2 separate regions of the Homo sapiens genome follow, and region 2 is linked to region 1. Evidence: promoter capture Hi-C in 16 types of primary human blood cells and fetal thymus (Javierre and others, 2016). All regions are on one chromosome and are shown on one strand. The core of a region is centred on a gene start or on the middle of the fragment in contact, and the rest is flanking DNA. Distances in the headings are between cores, read along the strand shown.

Region 1 (5,537 bases), core at 2,470-4,969:
ATAGAAAGCCACAGGGAATTCGTCAGGTAAAAACAAACTTGGAAGACAAACAGTCTCGGGTGAATCCTAAGGCCGCATGAGAAACTCAAATTGTGATTGGAAAATCTTGCCCTACCTCTTTACCACAAAACGGAATTGCCTGCCTTTGTCCATTCCTGAACCCAACACATTTGCCCAGATCCTTCCAAACCAAAGAAGCCTCCGACACAGGCAGACTATAGGAACCATCAAATTCCCGGGGAAACCCGACCGCTTAGTACAGCCACCCAGAAGAAGAAAAGATCAAATGAGACCGGCTCAACGGGGTCTTCCTGTAGTGACCCCTGAGTTAAAGTATTTATTTTCACGCTGCAACTGCTGATCACTTTACAGAGACATATCATGCTGTAGCTCTGCATGGAGCTGAAGACAAAAGCAACATTTTTATTAATGTTATAATTATTATAATTATCTTTAACAAAGCTATTAAATAACCTGTACAAAGCCCAAACCGGTCCTAGCGAAAACCCGAGCACTGTTTCAAATCTCCCAAGTTCCTTTCTATTCAGTTCAGCAGCATTTCCTATATACAAGGCCAGACCAGGGTGGTCCCCCGAAACTGTAGGTCTCCCTGACGGTGGGAACGGTTTAGAGTTTGGAACCGCCCTGGCGTACGGCAGAGCTCCCAATTACAATCCAAATGCCCCAGCCCCAACCCTACCTCCCCGCTCCTGGGAACTGGGTCCCTATGTCCGAAGGCAGCGGAAGTTGGAAGCCTGGCTCCATTTTGGGAGGCAGGCAACGGAGAGGGTCCGTCTGCTGAGTCTCCCCTCCGCCAGCTGCCCACAGGTCCCCGGATCTCTCGCAGAGGTGCTGGGAAGGGGGTCCACCTCCGGGAGGGCTCACAGGTCCCGCGCGTCCTCCCGCTTAACCCCGGCCTCAGCGACTTTGAGCTTCTTATTCTGGTGAGTCTTGACGTGCTTCGCGAGGTGGTCGCTGCGCATGAAGCGCTTGCCGCACTCGGGACAGGCAAAGCGCTTCTCGCCCGTGTGAGTCCGCAGGTGCCGCTGCAGCTCGTCCGAGCGCGTGAAGCTCTTCCCGCAGAAGAGCCAGTTGCACACGAAGGGTCGCTCGCCCGTGTGCCAGCGCAGGTGCGCCTTCAGGTGCGACGTCTTCCCGTACACCTTGCCGCAGCCCGGCACGTGGCACACGTGCTGCTTCTTCTTCCCCGGCTCCGCCTCGGGGGCGCCGCCCGCCGCCTGGCAGTTGGGACAGCGGCAGCGGCGGCACCTCCTGGCCGTGGCCGCCAGGGGGGCCTTGGTCTGCAGCAGCGCGGCGATCTGGCTCTGGTACTGCGCAAAGTCCGACGGGCCCAACACCAGGCCTCTTTGTAGGGCGGCGGCGGCCGCAGCAGCAGCGGCCGCAGAGGCGGGGAAGCGGGGCGCGTGGGGGGCCCCGGCACAGGCGCCGGAGAGGCCGCTTCCCGGAACCCCGGAGGCCCCCGGCCCGGCGCCCGCCTGCGGGATGCTCCACCACGGGAGGTCGTCGGGGGCCGGGTTGGGTGACAACTGGCGGCAGGTGGGCGGCGGGGGCGGTGGCGGCGGCGGAGGCAGCAGGTTGGAGTAGCCTGGCGGCAGCGCGGCCTGCGCCGCGTAGGGCACGTAGGCGGGCGCGCAGCTGGCGGGCAGAGCCGCCATGCTCGAGGGCAGCATCTTGACCGGCGAGAACTCGTAGGGGTACGAGGGGTCGGCGGGGGGTGTAAGGGGAAGCTCGTGCGCAGCCCCGAAGGACGGCTGCAGGTGCGTCTTCTGCGGCGTCAGCCCCAAGCTGGGATGCGGGGGCGGCAGTGCGCCTGGCGAGTGCGCCGGCATGTCGGCGGTCCACGGGTGGAAGAGCCTGGAGGGTGAGCCCAGCGCGGGGTCGTAGGGCACCTGCAGGAAGTCCGGGGGCGCCGCCGCGCCCGGCTGGCCGATGCGGCTACAGGTGGCGGCCAGCAATGCCAGGGGCGAGTGCTTGCCCAGGTCCGGGGAGGCGCTGGGGGTGCGGTCCTGCATAGGCGGCGAGGGAGGGCGGAGAAGAGACAAAAGGTTAGCTCCAAGCGCGGACTCCGGGCCAGCCCGCCGCCCCCACGCCCGCTATTATACCGCCGCCCCTCCTCCGTCCCGGCCGTCCCTCCCCCGCCACCGCACCCCACGCACGCACCCACCGGCCGAGGGAAACTTTTGGTGCCTGCGCTACCTGAACGTGGGGCCCGCGAGCGCTTCTTGCTAAACTACTTGGTGCACTGAGACGCCATCCAGCCTTAGAGGAAGCAGGCGCGAAGTGGGAGGGGGAGGCATCCGACGGGCCCCTCCCGGCTCCGTGGTCAGTAAGAGTCGGGAAACACCCACAACCCCGCCGGCCGGCCGCTCTCCCTCCCATCTTTTAAGCTCTCTTGTCCTCACTGCCTTCGCGCTCCTCCCTGGCCCGCCCCAGGCTGAAATCAGCAGGAGGGCCCAGCAGGGTGAGCTCCGGTCCTGTTCTCGGCCAGCCGGGCACCTCCGAACAATCCCGGATCCACGCGTCCCTCCAGCAAAGGCCACACCGGATTAGGTGTGAAGTTGGCGTGGGCACCCCTAGGCCTGGCTCCAGCTGCACCCATCGGCGGGGTTCCCTTTGAGGTTCAAGGTGCACGGAGTACCAGGAGAGATCCGGACACGGCCCTTTCCACCTTTCTCCCGCCCCCTCCGGGCTCGGCCCTGACCTGGAGAAAGGCCTGCAGCGAGTCGTTCCGGAGGACGGCCACCGCGGCCATGGCTACGGCTTGCAGGCCCCTGGCTGCGGAGCGGGACGCCGCCGCCGAGGCATGGACACCCGAAGGCGAGGACGAAGGGCCGCCCAGCCTGCCTCCCTGGCGCCTGCTCTGAGCGCCGGGGCCCTCCCCGCCCTTGCCCCTCGCCGCGCCCCGCTCGCTCGCCCCGCGCGCGGTCTGAGCGCTTCAGGATCACCTCCAAGAATTTGATAAGGACTTTGCTGGGCCGCCAGCCAGTCAGAGGGAAGATTTATGGCTTTGAAGTTTGCCGCTACCCAATCATCAAAGAATAGCGGCTCTTTCAGAAGCGAAAGCAAATCCTTTGAATCCACAAAGCTCCTATGGTGTGTTTGTTGGTCTGGATAAAAGAACTGATTATTAGGGGGGATGGGAAGGGAGGAGATAAAGGCGGGACAATTAATGAAGTAATCACTATGTGGGAAATGTATATACACAAATAATTGGATTTTCCTGATCAAAGGGGGCCTTGCCGCCTGGAGACCCGCGCTTGGGTTGCTCGAGACACTCTTCCCGCCCCCCCCAACATACACACACACACACACACACACACTTGCAATTAAAGATTTGCACCGACGCAGCGCCCAAAGTGACAAAGTGTCTTTGTTATCTCTGGAAAAATCTGCCTTCGGCTTCCAGGCGCCGGACTTTGAGACGGCAAAGAGTGTAACTCTCCCCTGTATTTACTTGCACACCCTGCACCCTCGCCGCACACGCACCCGCCCGCGCACACAGCGGACCCAAGCGAGATCCCCGGTGGGGCGTGGGACCGACAGCGCCCGGCCCGCCGCGTGTCCCCCGCCCGCCGCGGTGGGGCCGAGGGCAGGGCTGTGACCTGGGGCGGGGCCGGGCGGCCGCCCAGCGCGGCGTTGGGTGGCGCGCACGCTCCAGGGCCGCCCGCCTGACGAGCGACCGGGGCTCTCCTGTGACGTTCCTGCTGGCGACCTGGAAGTTTTCCTCAGGCCACAACTTTTGCAGAGTGGACCTGGGAAAAACACCCGCGCCGCGCATACCCTCAAAGCTGAGCTCGGCAGGACACCCAAGGCGACCCGTCATGCCCACCCGAGGGGAAGAAGCTGTGCTGTCCCGCCCCCTTCTCCCCAGGCCACCCAGGAGGCCCGGGCTGGGCTGTGGGGGGCCGAAAGCCCCAGCGCTGCTGGTGATTTCTCGCCCGGAGCCCCGCCAAGCCAGCGCGCCCTCTCGCAAGCCTGGCAGACCAGGAGCTACTGGAAAAAAGGCGCGGTCGAGGAAGCCTGGTTGTTGTGGTCCCACAAACCACAAATCATACGAGAGAGGATCCCGAAGGCGGGAGAAAAGTCAGTACAGACTTGTTCCTGCCACCTTTGGAAAGAAAAAGTTCCTCACCAGGCGCGGGGCGTGCTTTGCTCTGGGCAGGGTCGCGCTTGCAGGGGCTTGGGTGACCCCCATCCCTCCCTGGCGGCTCACCTCCTGCCGAGGAGGGCCACCTGCCTCCTCCTGGCCCAGGGCGCAGGGCGCGTCCTGCCCCGGCACTGCGGACGCGGGGATCGCCTCTCCCGGGCGCGCGGGCGGGGAAGGAGGAAGAGGCGGGCGGGGAACCGCGGGGTGCTCACCGCCCTGGGGCATTAGGGGTGCGGAACCGCGTTGGAGGCCTCGCGGCCCCGGCTCGCGAGAGCGCACTGCGGAGTGGCCGCCGGAGCTCGGCCTACTCCTCTCCCCCACCCACCTCCCGTCGGACACAGTCTCCACTCTCCAGGCCGCCGGCCGTGGGGGAGCCCCTAATCAGTTCGCGCCCGGCCTCTCTGCCCGTCTTCCTCACGGGAACCGCACTGCGACCGGGACGGACGGGGTGACCTATCTCCCGATGCAGCGTCAGAGGTTAGCCTAACTACAACGGACTCGGAATCTGGACTGTATAAGGATGCCCTCCGCACTTCCATCAGGGGTCGGGGATGCGATGCCTCCGGGCCCACCTTCTCCCACGCCCAGGGCGCGCCTGCGGAATGAGAATATCGTACTCAAGACGGGTGGGCTGCTTGCGACCCAAATACAATGGGTCCCTCGCACATCCTGCACTCGCACGCCCCCTTCTCCCCCAACGAGTTGTCCCCTCTAAAACGCGAGCGGCGACCACACAACTTGGCCGACCCGATCTGGCTTCTGAAGATGAGGTCGGCTGCTCTGGGAGCGGAGAAGGGGAGAGAGCTTAGTGGTTTCATCCGAGGCCTGGCCAACCTGCTCCTTCCCACGCTCCCGTCCAGGATTTGAGTCTTGGAGAAGCGTGAGACTCGAGGGAGCTCTTCCCTGGATGCAAGTCGGAGGCCAGGGAGCCCCTTGGCACACACTCGCGCCTGCACATGCTTGCACCCTCGAAGCGATCTGGTTCCTTAGCGCTGGTTTCCTTTCCAGCTTCTTTGAGATCTTCGAAGTCCCCTTTCCCAGGGAGGCGGGCAGGGCCGGGCTAAGCAGGATGGAAGGCAGCCCTTTTTATTGAATCTGATAGCTACTTTCCCAAAAAGGCCAGAAAAGCCATTTCACATCCCCATAGTTATGGGAATTAGCTTTTTCTCCAAGATGCCCCCATTAGCCAGTTAAACCATCAGTGGGCCAACAGGGTCAAAGTTAGTGGCTTGGTGGTTGAAAGCTCGGAGTCCGAACTCTCTGAAGACATTTTTCCCGCCTTGCCACTTTCTAGTTGGTGACCTTGGCAAGCAAGGTACTCAGCCGCTGTGTACCTCAGTTTTGCGGTTTGTAAAATGGGAGTTACAAT
Region 2 (5,406 bases), core at 1,681-4,180, 5.4 Mb before region 1:
TTACATTTTTAAAAATATTAATATATAATTTAAGGCTAAATAAAATAAACCAAAATATGGTACCCTTTATCAGCTTTACCTATTTAGATTGTTAAAGTCCTTTGTTATGATCAGCTAACAGATGTATATAAGGTACTTTAGGCAGTAATGTTTACATTTCCCCCAAAAAATATATATGATTGATGAGAACGCTGGTTGGTAAAATTAACATAAATTCATCATTTGTTGGGTCCATTGGATCTGGTTATTATATTGAAATAAAATTGTAAATAAAGTCTTCGTGCTTTAAATATTGCTGGATGTATGAACTCACTGTAAGATATTTTACAAATGTGCAATAATTATAAAGCCTTGTATATTACGTTATTTATTGTGTTTGGTCATGTAAAATAAATGTTATTTAAATCAAGGCAGTTTTATTTGTTTAAGAGATTGCAAAATGGTTTGTGCTAGTGTTCGTTTTTAACTGTGGCATCCAGGGTTATGAGAATCTCTTAAAACAACATGTTTAAATCCATATAATACACATATCAGATGGATTAATTCATTCTAATCATTATTTTTATGGCAAATACATTACTCATGTTTATAGGAGACATGCACTCTTCCAAACATTGGTTTAACGTTAATTGGCTGGCTAAACAGATAAGAGTGTTTAGGAGTAGTGTGTGTGTCGATACACATGGTAGAGGACGTGCCGTCATATATATAGGGAGTGTGTACACAGGGTTAGGAGCTGTTTATGTTTGCAGTACTACAAAGGTAAACAAAATTAATTCCTCTATCTAATTAACTTGCCCACTTTTATTCTCCCACTTATGAAGTAAATATTAATATTTAATTCAAGGAAAAAGTTCACTCTTAATAGGAGCTCAGCCCTCTTCAAGCTCAGCCCTCCCTTACTAGTTCCATCTCCTTTGGTCTCTTTTAGGGGTGTACAGCACATTCTTCAAACTTAAGTAGTGTTTCTGTTTGCTGAGGATAAAGGATGCTGTGAACATTTTACCAAATTGGCTATGAGTATTTCAAGCAACTGGATATTTAAAAATATGATTTCCCCTCTTCCTTCTTTCTTTTGCTTTGGTACTTCAGCCCTGTTTTTCTTTCCCAATCCTATCTTCTTTCCCGAGTTCAGTCCACCTCTTCGTGTATTTACAGATCTGTCTTAAAATCGATATTTCGATGGCAAAATGCAAGAGTCAATGGTGTGTGCAAAGCAGTCTATTCGATTTAAAAACCAAGATGTCCCTTCCTCGAAATTTTCTTTTTCCAACTGCTCACCCTGGCATTAATTACAACGATGAGGACACTACTGGGAATACAGAGGCTGCGATCACAAGCCATTTTGGCCTGTAATTTACCATTATTATTGCATTAGCTCTAAATGATACAAGCTGATACCGTCTTTAATTGCAGGTTGGTTAAATATATACTGAAGTAATCCCAAGGGTTCCCTCCCCCTCGATAAATTCTTTTCTCTCTTTCCCCTTCTCTCTTTTCTTGAACTCCCCCATTAAAGAAATACGATTATAGCAGCACATTTGGACTGGTGATGTATCACCCTGGTTTTCGGTGCTCTTTGCTAACTCGGGGGTTGTAACCCTTAAAAACAAAAGCATTGAGATAGATGGGCCAGCAAACGGAAAAAGACAGTGGCCAAAAAACCCTGTCCAAAATAACAGCATTTTTTTTGTCTCGAGTGTGCAAAGAATGAAAAAATAATTCATCATAAAATGCAGAAGACTGTCTGTCATCAAGCCCGAATTGTTTTTGACAAGAAAATAAATCTGTAGGTTGTTTAATATATTTTATATTTTCTTTATTTCGTCGCTAATGGAAAAACCAAATTAAATGTCCACTAGCGAGATAGAAATGCAAAGATCGATGATCCACCCCCCTACTGTCCAATCACCCCTATTTAATTGACTGTATTTTCTGGGTAATTGAACTGCTTGTTGTAAATTGAAGATTTTATAGAAACGACATGAAAACTACATTTACTGACATTCATCGCATCTTTGACATTGATTATCTGATCAACGCATGTCACGGTAACCTCCAATTCTTCATTACACACTGTTTATGAGCTGTTACAGAACAACTTGCTTGTTCCAGGGTGATTGATTGCCTTATTAACGCGTGTTCTTGTAAGTGTGACCGAACTGATTACGATGCATATGTTTAGAATAATGTTTCATTTAGCTGACTGCGAGTAATGCAGGGTGACAGCTGCTGCAGGGAGGACAAAAAAACCTGAACTACAGGGCGCGTTTGGGACCAAAAAGCCCAAGTTATTTAAGGTGGAACGGACCACCCCGAGAGGAAATTCCAGAGCTTGTTGCTGCTCCTTAGTCGCTCGGAGGAAGCTTACCCTGGCATCCCCGCCCTCCAAACTCAGAAATATGAAACATTTGATGAAACAATCGCTACCCTCTGCAATTAAATAAGTTATGAAGACTAAATATATGGTAAGGGTTTTCCTCTTGTTACTTCTCTTCCATAAATTGTATTTCTTTTTCTTCCCATAATGCTCCGGTGTCCTGGATTTTTAGGTGCAAAAAGAACAAGCAAAGAAATTTACCTTTGTAAAAATCTACTTACTTACACACAGCTCCAAACTCAAAATTCTTCAGTCTGCTATGGATTCCAGGAAAGGTGTCCTTTCAATCCTACCCATCCTGAATCCGCTAAAGGAAGACTTATAACTCTCCCTCCCGCTAAAACTTGAGTCCCTTTCCTGGGCTTTCTGAGGAAGGAAAGTGACCTTTTCCTTTGCCAAGGCCCTGAGCGTTTTTCCTAGGCCGATCAGGTCAGAAGCTGGAGTGCATTTTGGTTTTAGGCTGAACCTTTATTGGCAGCTCTCCCAAACCCCAGTCATCAAAGGCCTACACCTGGAGACCCTGGAGAGCAGCGTAGGGCTCACGCTATAATTTGTCTGTTAATGTTATGAGCCATGATTTGATCAGAAGTGGGGATCTACTTTCAAGTAGCATTCTGAGTTTCCTCTCATAAGGAACCAAAGAAGGGGACATAGAGCCCTGCAGTGGTCATGAGAAGTCAGTCTCTTTTCCTTTCCTCTTTTTCCACCTAGGACTGGCTGCACAATTTTTGGTCCCAGTGCAAAATGAACATGTGGGCCCCTTGTTCAAAAGTTATTAGGAATTTCAAGAGGGCAACAACAGAACATCAAATCAAGCTGGGGGGTGGCTTTTAAGCCCATCACCCTGTGTGACTACAAAGATCCCCACCCACGAAGCCTGCCCTGTCTCACCCCCTCTCAGATGGAGAGACTCCCCTTGAGTTTAAATAACTTATCCCAATAAAAGACTGGCTTGGGAGTAGAGAGGGAGAAATGTAGGGGGTTATGGCTCCTGGGGGCACCTCCCCTTTCTTCAGTGACCTTTTGGCCTGATCCCTTCTCTTTCTTTGGAGCCACTCTCACCTCAGCTTCTCTGACCTAAGGTCTGGGTCCAAAGAATCTCATGGAAGCTTCCTGAACCACTTCTGAGGTGGGAAGGGTCACCCTCTCTTCCAGCTTCCTTTACACCAATTTGCAAAGTATCCACAACTAAGCTCATCATCCCTGACTTAGGAAAACCAGAATCAAGGTGTCTCTGCCTGTGACGGAAACCCAGGGGAGGAGGGGTGGTGGCGGGGGTGGGTTGGGAGGATAGTCCAGTCTGCAAACGAGAAAAGGGGCAGGCTGGTGTTTCTGAGGTTTGAACTCAGAGCAGGCACTTTGGAGTAAAACCAGTGACCTCCAGACCCTGTGGTATTCCCAGCCAAGTTGGGGAGGGCTGGCAGTGGGGGTCTTGGTTTTCCTGGAGCGATGGGAAAGCATGCTGTGAAAATGCTTTTTATAGATTCTCCCACCTCCACCCCAATCTTATTTTAATAAATACATCCTCAGGCATTATTTACAAGCTCACATAATTTACCTATGCTATTTGGCAAAGCAACTTCGCAAAAGAAAGTGAATGAATAAATACTTCATAACTGCTGGTAGAGCAGACTGGGTCCTGTAATGAAGAAAAGATTTATGTCACCTTATTTCAGCCCAAATAGCAGCAGCCTCGGCTTGTCTCAGCCCAGTGCTTCTATTTAAATGTTACTTTCATATATTATGTGGCATTAATTTAACTATAGCTCATTAAGGCAGAATGAAATGGTTAAATTAACTTATCAACCCATAATGATGATGAATGAGGTATTAATTCAGATACAAGCTGGGCAATTTGCAAGTTTACGCATTGTGATGGTTCTCAAATAACATTTTGAATAGCGGGTCAGCGCCTCAATCAATTACATAAGCATGTAAAGTTGGTCTCTCAGAAAAAAAATCCTTTTTCATGCATATGCATTAAAACATGTTCGCAATTATCCTCGGAAATTGCCTTCATTGGATTAAGCAGCAGCCTTGGACGCGGGTTCTGATCTTCCCTGGGCTTTTATTAAAGCTCTGAGCAGCTTTGGCAATAACAGGGCGGATGGGCTGTTTGTTTAAAGAGTGTTTACCAAAGAAAAGGGCCGACGGGGTGTGCTGGTTGATAAACAGGGATCTACCTCCTTGGGAGAAGTTGTTAGGAATCGTCTGACTGCCCCGAGGCTGAGGAGGGAACCCTGTCAGCCCAGACATCGGCTCCGGGGCTTCGGCTTTCCGGGCTAGTAATTAACTGCCACCTCAAAACCAGCCTTGGGTTCAGGCTGTGCTCGCCAGGGAGATACCGTGCCCGGCCCAGCGTTCGCCCACTAGGGGACTCGGGCGGGGGGACGGGTAGGCACACAGGCAGCCTCCTGCGATCCTTGGTTCATCCAAGCCAGACCAGCAAATGACTTACTTAGTCCTGGGATGGGGGCTCTGGAGGGGGATTTAATGAGCCCTTTGGCAGGAGCTGATTCAGGGCGGCGGTGACCCGTTGTTTCCACCTTCATGCCAAGACGGTTGGCGAATCTCTGCGGATATCCTGCTCGGTTTGACAACTTTGTGTGGGAGAAGAGTTAGCCCAGGTTCAACTCTGGAGTGGAAGCTACAGGAGGGCAGGGCTTGGCCTCAGATATCTCATCTGCAACCCCACCCCAATCCCGACCCCGACCCCGACCCCCAAGCAGGCCTGGTTTGCCCTCCCTGTTCATGAGGCCTAACTTAAGTTCTCTCTGGAGAAAAGTAAAAATAAAAAAGTCAGAGGCCACGGCAGAAGGCTTTGCGGAAGGGCAGGAGGGATTAAAATGAGTTTTTCTGGGACCTCCTTCTATTCCTCTGCCCCATTTTAAAAAATCTTGGTGAAAATAGGGCAGTTAAATAAAACTTTGGCACTTTCCATATGCCACGTACTGCCAAGAGCATACATTAACTCATTTAATTTTCACCACACTCATACGAAATAGTTTCCATCATTATCCCCATTT

The links. Contacts are between HindIII fragments. The CHiCAGO score rates a contact against its expected background, and 5 or more counts as called.
Region 2: a fragment that was not itself captured here is called in contact with the fragment with the promoter of LINC01124 in region 1 in 1 of 17 cell types (total B cells); the score reaches 11.1 in total B cells.

Annotation. Positions count from the first base shown.
Region 1 is chr2:170,712,749-170,718,285 of GRCh38, reverse strand. It overlaps LINC01124 (long intergenic non-protein coding RNA 1124), which reads left to right and starts at 3,719. Exons shown (of 1, transcript NR_027433.1): 1 at 3,719-5,537. SP5 (Sp5 transcription factor) reads right to left here and starts at 2,949. Exons shown (of 2, transcript NM_001003845.3): 1 at 2,723-2,949; 2 at 208-2,027. The coding sequence starts at 2,773. The coding sequence ends at 882. All of the region lies in intron 5 of ERICH2-DT (ERICH2 divergent transcript), which reads left to right. RefSeq lists enhancers at 998-1,787, 1,788-2,575, 2,576-3,365 and a silencer at 3,583-3,632. The HindIII fragment of the contact is 7,273 bases long and covers 1-5,537 here.
Region 2 is chr2:176,072,475-176,077,880 of GRCh38, reverse strand. EVX2 (even-skipped homeobox 2) reads left to right here. Exons shown (of 3, transcript NM_001080458.2): 3 at 1-409. Among named protein-coding and RNA genes, the nearest start is that of EVX2, 8.8 kb to the left of the region's middle. RefSeq lists enhancers at 1,199-2,539, 4,711-5,211. The HindIII fragment of the contact is 1,123 bases long and covers 2,369-3,491 here.